Linked DNA regions of Homo sapiens: all the other regions are linked to region 1. Evidence: promoter capture Hi-C in human tissues and cell types (Jung and others, 2019). All regions are on one chromosome and are shown on one strand. Each heading gives the region's core, a stretch centred on a gene start or on the middle of the fragment in contact. The rest is flanking DNA. Distances are from core to core; before and after follow the strand shown.

What was found. Contacts are between HindIII fragments. The study calls those that stand out against the background at their distance.
Region 2: a contact is called between a fragment that was not itself captured here and the fragment with the promoter of ACTBL2 in region 1, in 1 of the 25 tissues and cell types used here (dorsolateral prefrontal cortex).
Region 3: a contact is called between a fragment that was not itself captured here and the fragment with the promoter of ACTBL2 in region 1, in 1 of the 25 tissues and cell types used here (dorsolateral prefrontal cortex).

The regions. Positions count from the first base shown.
Region 1 is chr5:57,481,391-57,484,226 of GRCh38, forward strand. It overlaps ACTBL2 (actin beta like 2), which reads right to left and starts at 1,421. Exons shown (of 1, transcript NM_001017992.4): 1 at 1-1,421. The coding sequence starts at 1,317. The coding sequence ends at 187. All of the region lies in intron 1 of RMEL3 (enriched in melanoma 3), which reads left to right. The HindIII fragment of the contact is 3,416 bases long and covers 1-2,836 here.
Region 2 is chr5:58,586,580-58,589,440 of GRCh38, forward strand. The region is part of intron 1 of RAB3C (RAB3C, member RAS oncogene family); the gene reads left to right. Among named protein-coding and RNA genes, the nearest start is that of RAB3C, 4.9 kb to the left of the region's middle. The HindIII fragment of the contact is 3,938 bases long and covers 1-2,861 here.
Region 3 is chr5:58,780,583-58,783,299 of GRCh38, forward strand. All of the region lies in intron 3 of RAB3C (RAB3C, member RAS oncogene family), which reads left to right. Among named protein-coding and RNA genes, the nearest start is that of RAB3C, 200 kb to the left of the region's middle. The HindIII fragment of the contact is 3,377 bases long and covers 1-2,717 here.

The DNA.
Region 1 (2,836 bases), core at 171-2,670:
TGATGGAGAACCGGATGTGGTTATCTGGGTAAGAGCCCAGGTTACTTGGATGGAGAGATGGGTTTGCTGGTTTACACTAGGAAGAGTGACGTATTTACCTCGATTCTACTGAAAGCGGATAAAAGCAGTACCATCACTGTGACCTAGGAAAAGGGAAAATGTAAGCCCACTAATATGGAAGCCCATTCAGAAACATTTTCTGTGAACGATAGGAGGACCAGCCTCATCATATTCCTGCTTACTGATCCACATCTGCTGGAATGTGGACAGGCTGGCAAGGATGGAGCCCCCAATCCAAACAGAATACTTCCGCTCTGGGGGAGCTATGATCTTGATTTTCATGGTGCTGGGTGCCAGGGTTATGATTTCTTTCTGCATCCTGTCAGCAATGCCTGGGTACATGGTGCTCCCTCCAGATAACACGGTGTTGGCATAGAGATCCTTGCGAATATCCACATCGCACTTCATGATAGAGTTGAAGGTTGTCTCATGGATCCCACTGGACTCAATGCCCAGAAAGGAAGGCTGGAAAATGGCTTCAGGGCATCGGAAGCGTTCATTCCCAATGGTGATCACCTGCCCATCAGGAAGTTCATAGCTCCGTTCCGGTGAGGAGGATGCGGCTGCCCTGACCATCTCCTGCTCAAAGTCCAGGGCTACGTAGCACAGCTTCTCTTTGACATCTCGCACAATCTCCCGCTCAGCAGTGGTGGTGAAGTTATAGCCTCGCTCTGTCAGGATCTTCATGAGGTAATCAGTCAGGTCTCTCCCTGCCAGATCCAGGCGTAGAATGGCATGAGGCAGGGCATAACCTTCATAGATGGGCACGATGTGAGTGACCCCATCCCCAGAATCCATCACGATGCCTGTGGTCCGTCCTGAGGCATAGAGGGACAGCACAGCCTGGATGGCGACATACATGGCTGGTGTGTTGAAAGCCTCGAACATGATCTGAGTCATCTTTTCCCGGTTGATCTTGGGGTTCAGGGGTGCCTCGGTGAGGAGGATGGGATGCTCATCTGGTGCCACACGGAGCTCATTGTAGAATGTGTGGTACCAGATCTTTTCCATATCGTCCCAGTTGGTGACCACTCCATGCTCGATAGGATACTTCAGGGTCAGGACGCCTCTCTTGCTCTGAGCCTCATCTCCCACGTAGCAGTCCTTCTGGCCCATGCCTACCATAACGCCCTGGTGTCGAGGACGCCCTATCATGGAGGGGAACACAGCCCGGGGGGCATCGTCACCACCAAAGCCTGCCTTGCACATCCCTGACCCATTATCCACTACCAAGGCAGACAGCTCATTGTCAGTCATGGTGCTGGCTGAGATCTTCCAGACGAGTGAACAGGACAAGTGAATAGACAGTGAGTAAGAGAAAGTGAACAGGCCTAAAACACTCCAGAAATGCTTTCAGACACGGGAGGCTGCACCGGGACCACAGGTATTTAAAGGAACACACTGACTCCGCCCATGTCCTACTCCACCAGTTCCCAGCATTTCTGGATGAGGTCATCTCTGAGGTATTAATGATGGTGATGATTACATAAACAATTAGATCTTTCTACATAAAGAGAAAATTGGCTGCCAAGTGGTCAAATCTCAGGTTCCTGTAATTAGGCAACCCACACATGACCGTCAGCCTGCCTGGTGAGGTCTCTAGATAACTATGATGATGCAGTGGGGGATATAAAAGCAAGATGAAAGAAAGCTGGTGCTAGGTATGGCAACACTGCTGGGAGGAAGGCTCCCTCCTTAGCGTCCCTGAGGATTCACTTTTCCTACACTAGCTTACCTTTTCATTCTTAAGATACTGTTCTGATGAGGGGTCTTACCCTGCAATCTTCACTTTTTCAAGATTTTTGTTTCCATTAGATTCCTAATCCCACAGGGTGTCATCATCGTAGAGACTGTTTTAGTAAATGAAAATAATAAATGGCTAAGGATGGCCTGATGGCTGTAATTACAATGCACTTGTGTCAAGCAAAATGTAGAGATATTTAATAGACTTCTAATCCATCAGAGATCAAGCGAAAGGAATAGAATGATTGCTAAAGTTAACCCATATAGATACTTTTTTCTGATATAAATTTCTAACAACCAAATTTCATTAAACATTTACTGTGTCTAGACATTGTTCATAGAACCAGGTTCATTGGGTCCATGTTAATTGTATAATGACTGAATGTCAACTATTTTGCATGATTTATTAAGATGCAGGTTATAAAAATTTATTTATTTGCAACAACTCTTGAGTTCTGCAACAATGGACAAAATGAAGTGATAAGACAAATTTGAAAAATTATATATTTAAACTAATCCTTAAAACATTTTGATCTTCAAGATACATATACTATATTATAACATTAAACCTCTATGTAGTTATTAAAATCTATACAATTAGAATTATACTAGCTTTCCTTCCATTTCAAGATATATTACACCCTGATCACTTCATAGCAACAATTTGTTTGGGTTCCATGTTTCATATAGAAATACAGACTACCTGAAAAGATGTGTATGATGGTAAAATGTAGGACATCAGCAATGTGTTACAGAGAAATAGCATTTAAGAAAGCTCATTACTTCTGCTCCCCTATGTGTTAGGCGAATAGAATATAATTATCTTTGTGAGCTCTTGTAAAGCAAAGAAATTTTCCATGTCTACATCTGAGTTCTCCAAAATAATCTTTATTTGGGTTCATCATTCATTCATTTACCCAATAAAGCTTGCTTTGTAAGAGGTAGCACAGCCCCTATTTACTGGACAAAAAACACCCTCCAGCTCAAGGCCAGGAGAACTAACCTGAGTCTTTGCCCAGTGAGCCTCTTGGAG
Region 2 (2,861 bases), core at 103-2,602, 1.1 Mb after region 1:
ACAGGACCAAAGTGGAATTCATTGTCTCTGACTAAATGCTTACTTTTCCAATTTGTTATCCACAAGCTTTTGGGGTCACTTCATAAATGCAGTCTTCTGACTATTGAGGAAAATTCAAAGAAATATATCTACCCAAAACATGGAGCAGAGTGCCAAAAAAAAATGTTTGGCTAAAGATGAGGAGGATTGAAGAAGGACTATAGATGTAGGCTGAAGATGAAGTGGAGCTAAAAACCATTAGTTATATATTAAAGTTAGCCATACTGTACACAACACCAAATTACAAAGAATTAAAGTCTAAATATCACTGTTTTATTTGGCTATGGAAAGTACATGGCATTTTTGCACTTCATTATTGTTGAATTCCTAACCATATCCATCCTCAGTGATCATCCCTCTATCTTTCTGAGAAATGGACATGTAGTCCTCATCCTTTACAGAAACAGAAAATCCCTAATTGACTTTAGAGAAATGAGAAATTCTTCCTTACTCCATTTGGGCTAATTGCTCAAGTATCCACTTTTCTTCTGTAAAAGGAAGTGGAGGATAGCAAGAAAACTTAACCTATAGCAAAAATTCACTTTTGTAGTATAAGAATGCTTTTCCATTGAAACTGCAAAATTATCATAATTTTCTGCCACCATTCTAAGCTTATACTGGAATTGGCAAGTCCTTTCTTCACCATCATATTCCAGGAAGGAAATATATGTTTATGCTGAGGAATAGGTTTTCTTGAAACTACTCTTGCCCACTCAACTCGCTAAATACAAGCAGCTGGGCCACCTCAAAAAAATGTTCTTTTATATAGATTAAAGGTTTTCCAACCATTTTTCCCTTTCTTAAATTAATGTGGCTCAGAGGTTCTGTGGGAATCATCTTAGCAGGTCAGTCTATTACCAAGGATACTACAGCCTGTGAAGATTAAATCTTTGAGAGTTATTCAGAATAACATAGATCTTTAGCATTTTTCGTTCATTAGTTTATAGGTTTTTAGATAATATTTATATACATTGAAATGCACAAATCTTAAGTGAACAATTTGATAAATTTTGACAAATGTATAAATCTGTGTAACACACACCATTATAAAGATATAGAACATTTCTAATCATCCCTGAGTATTCCTTCATGGTTTTTCCTAATTAATATACCTATGCAGTAAACTTTTTTAGGTGAGACTTGAACTTGAGATCCCTGGGTTCTCCTGACCAATCACGGGTTAGCTGTGGGATTTTCCTGTGTCTCCTCTCTCCCTGGGAAGGTTCAAAAGTCACTCAGCCCTGCAGAGTGACTTAACCATAGGAGTTTGATTTGTTCTAGAACTTCATATAGTTCTGTAGAACATGCAGTATGAACATACTGTGGAACAAAAAAATATGTTCTTGTTTGAGTCTGGCTTATTTCGTTCAGCATAATGTGTATGAGATTCATCCATGTTGTTGCATGTTTCAATAATTCATTCCATTTTATTGCTGAATATTATACTTTTAAAATCAATTTAATATACTTTTAAAATTCATTATCCTGTTTATGAACTTGGAGGTAATTTCTAATTTGGGGATACTAAGAATAAGGCTATAAATGTTTTTTCTATTGTTCTTTTTTATGATAATATCTTTTCACTTCTCTTGGGTAAATACCTAAAAGTAAAATTGCTGGAATAAATGGTAAGTATATATTAAGCTTTATAAGAAACAATCAAATCTTTTGCCAAAGTGGGAGGACCGGCAATTCTCACCAGCAATGTATGAGAGAGTTTTAGTGGCTCCACATCTTCAACAGCATGTAATGTCAGTGGTCTTTTTAGTTTTGGCCACTTGGTAATGAGTGTTTTCTGGTATCTGATTATGATTTAAATTTGAATTTTCCTAATGATGAACGGTTTTTAGTATATTTTTATGTGCTTATTGGCCACTTATATATCTTCCCTTGTGAATCATGGGTTTTAACCTTTTATGCATCTGGGGGGTTTGTTTTTATTGTTTAGTTGCAAGAGATCTTTCATCTTCAGTTTAGTCCTTTGTCAAGTCAGGTAGATATATAAATAAAGGTTTCTCCCAGTTGGTGGCTTGTACATTCATATTCTAAATAGTGCCTTTTGGTGAGGATTTTTTTGAATTTTGATGAAATTTAGGTTAATTAATTATACCTGGGGTCTGTATCCAGACTCTGATCTGTTTGTCCTGACTCTGCGTCCAGAGGCCTTGCTATATTTATTTCTAGTTTTCTTTAAGATTCCATAAGAATTTCAACATAAACTATCATATTATTTACAAATAGAGATAGTTTATTTCTTCCTTCCCAAAGACTCTCTTTTTTTCCCCATATCTTATTGAATAGAATAGAACAACCAGTACAATGTTGAATAGACGTGATGACAGCGGACATCCTTATCTTGTTCCCCATTTTAAGAGGGAAGACCTTCCGTTTTTTATCATCAAGTGTGAAATTAGCTGTAGGGTTTTGTTACTATGTTTCTTTGTTTTGGTATAGATATTATTTATTATATTGAACAAATTTGATTTCTCGGTTGATGAGAAAATTTGTTTTTAACATAAGTGGGTGTCAAATATTGTCAAATGCTTGTTCTACATCTATTGATGTGATTGTGTGGTTTATCTACTTTATTTTGTTGGATTTCATGGATGGATTTTTTAGCTAATCTGGCATTCCTTAGATAAACCCTATTGGTCATGATATATTGTCCTTTCTATATATAGCTGGATTAAGCTTGATTATATTTTGTTAAGTATTTTTTTGCATTAGTCATGATGGATATTGGGCTATGATTTTCTCTTAATGCCTTCATGAAGTTATAGTATTGGAATTATGCTTATAAAACAAGCTGAGAAGTACTCTTT
Region 3 (2,717 bases), core at 22-2,521, 1.3 Mb after region 1:
AGTTTTGTCATTTGCTTATGCACTGGCTCCAGGTATTACCTTATGAACTGAGTGCTTACAATGCATTCAGCAAAATTCAGACTGTGGCTGTGTGATGCTGCCACTCTGTCTCCCTAGACAGGGTGAGCCTATGTCTGTTTCACGACCCTTTGTGGCCAACTTGTTGCTGGCATAATCAGTGTTCTGGAATATCCTGAGATCTTAGGTGGAGGTTTTCAAACCCTCCTTTGAAGGAAGTATGGCTTCTTCCTTAATGATGGGGCTAATAAAAAATATTAAATATATCATAGTAGTCACAATTTCTTTCTCCATTGTAAAGAACTTGTGACTACTATGATATATTTAGTATTTTATTATTAATTACCTATCTTGTAGTCTGTAACTATGTACCAGCTATAATTTCATTCAGATCCTCTTTGCTTCTGTCTAGGATTCCATATGTGTTTTGTTTTTCCTGAATTAGACTCTAGCCCTATCTCTGAATAGTAACTAGAACTGCATCATTTCTCAAGGCAAGAAGAAACCCCTCTAAAAATGAATGAATAAATGGGAAATCAGTCAAATAAAAAAAAAGTTAAGACCTCCAGCAAAAATACTCATAGATGCTCATCAGTGTCCCACCTGACTCCACACAGTATGGCCCTCTAGGATTTCATGTTTGCATATAACCTTTGGGTGAGAGAATGATCTGCTGCTAGGTAGATATGATTGGTTAAAATTAATACTTGTATATGTATTTCCCTACTATTACTTTAGTTTCTTTTATTAAAACTTGTAAAAGTCTTCTAATTTGGCTTCTGTATTTCTGAGCATTTCCTTTCTTAACCAGAGTTCTTCATCTGAATATGACTTAAGTAACTATTTTCTTAGTTCTCCTAAGCATGGTTCCTAACTACAGTAGCACCATTCTAGATGCACAGGGAACAAGTTAATTTATTATGTAAAATATATACTTTGAAAGCATTAAGGCTTAATTCTTAGTTGAAAAAAAAAAGTAGGGTTGGGATGGAAACTCTATGTTAATCTTCTTAGATTACTCTTTTGTTCATGTTTCACATCATCAGCCTGCGCAGAATCTACCAGTGGCTCCCTGGTACCTATACAATTAGGTTTAAACCCTTAGCATGTAGAGCTCCCTATAATCTGGACTCAACCTACACTGTATCTCTTCTCTCTCTTTATCTGGGCCACTGGGCTTCACTCTAGTTCTCCATCCCACCCTGAACCAAACCAGAATGTACTCTTCCAACTTCCTCCTCCCTCTCCACTACCCCAGTCCCTGACTTTCATCTCTGTATGTCTCATTTTACTCATTTTTCAAGGTCAAGCTTAGATTTTATATTCTACATAAATTTTTTTTTGATTCTCCCTTCTACCGAATCTCTACCACATTTTACTTTTTAAAAATTTTTGTAATACTTTTCACTATCTTTTGAGTGCATATCTTATCAACTGCTCCAGCCTGAAAGTCCTCTGAGTAAAACTGTGTTTTACGTGTATTTGCATCCTCTTTTACCCCTTATCCCCATGACTAAAAGATGTAAGGTCAATAAAGCTTTGGAGAGAGAAAGAATGAATGAATGAATGGGAAGCGGAATACATTGGCACTTGTCTACTGGTATACCACAGGTTCAGACTTCAACAGGTTAAGCAGGCGAGGCTTGGAAGAGAAAGCATCCTTGACATAAGTGAGCTTTCTCTCTCTACATGCTTGTGTGTTACATGACATGGTATGATGCCTTAAACTCCCGTCAAAAATCTACATGCCCCCCTACTTCCTCTAAGAGCCTTAAACCAAATCTTTTCTCTTAGGTTGTCCTCCAGAATTTCTCACCGCATGCTTTAACACCTTGTACACAGTATTTAAGTAGTATCTCCAAATGTGAATACTCATTATGCCCACCATTATATATATAATTACTCATCTTTGACAGTAAATGTTAAATATTTATTCCTATACTTAAACATAATGCACAGGATTCCTTTTTAGTGACTGCTAATGAGTTACTTTTTTCTAAATCAGCCGAAACATGAAAATTAAGCATTTTTTTCTGCTCAGAAATAATTTCAATGATAATAGTGTTAAAACTTTGCATTTCTAAAGTACACTGTATTTGAGAATTCTACAGAATTGTTGGAACATAAGTCATGCAAAGGTATGAATCAGTCAGCACTTCAGTAGGAATATTAGCTTTATACCCAGAAAGCACTTAACAGCCTTTGCCACCTGAAAAAAAGATAGGATAAGAATAATTTCTCAAGAGCCAGGATCTAGGACCACATTTACCTTTCAGATTTAAAATATGAAGGCTTTTCATTTTCACAGCCTTTGATTGTACTATGTCCCATAATGTTATTTTTTTTTTAATTGCTTCTATTCTTTCCTGGTAGGAGACTACCATGTAACCCCTTTTGATTTCCGAGAGATGTGGAATGCAGATCTGTAACACTGCATTTTCATAACTCTTCCTTTTTGCTTTGGATATATTTTTGTCATTAATATAGTACTGGCAGGTCTGAATGTGTTTTCCTAACCTTATTCCATCCTCCCTTTGCTAGGAGTTAATTTAGTGAGAGCTCAACCCACATAAATATACGCTTATAAAGCACAAATGCTCCCCAATCATAAAGAAAATGCCCCATGAGATACTGATCAAGGGACATTTTTTTAGATTAAAGGCTAAAAGATATCTTTACATCAAGCTCAGCTGAGTAAA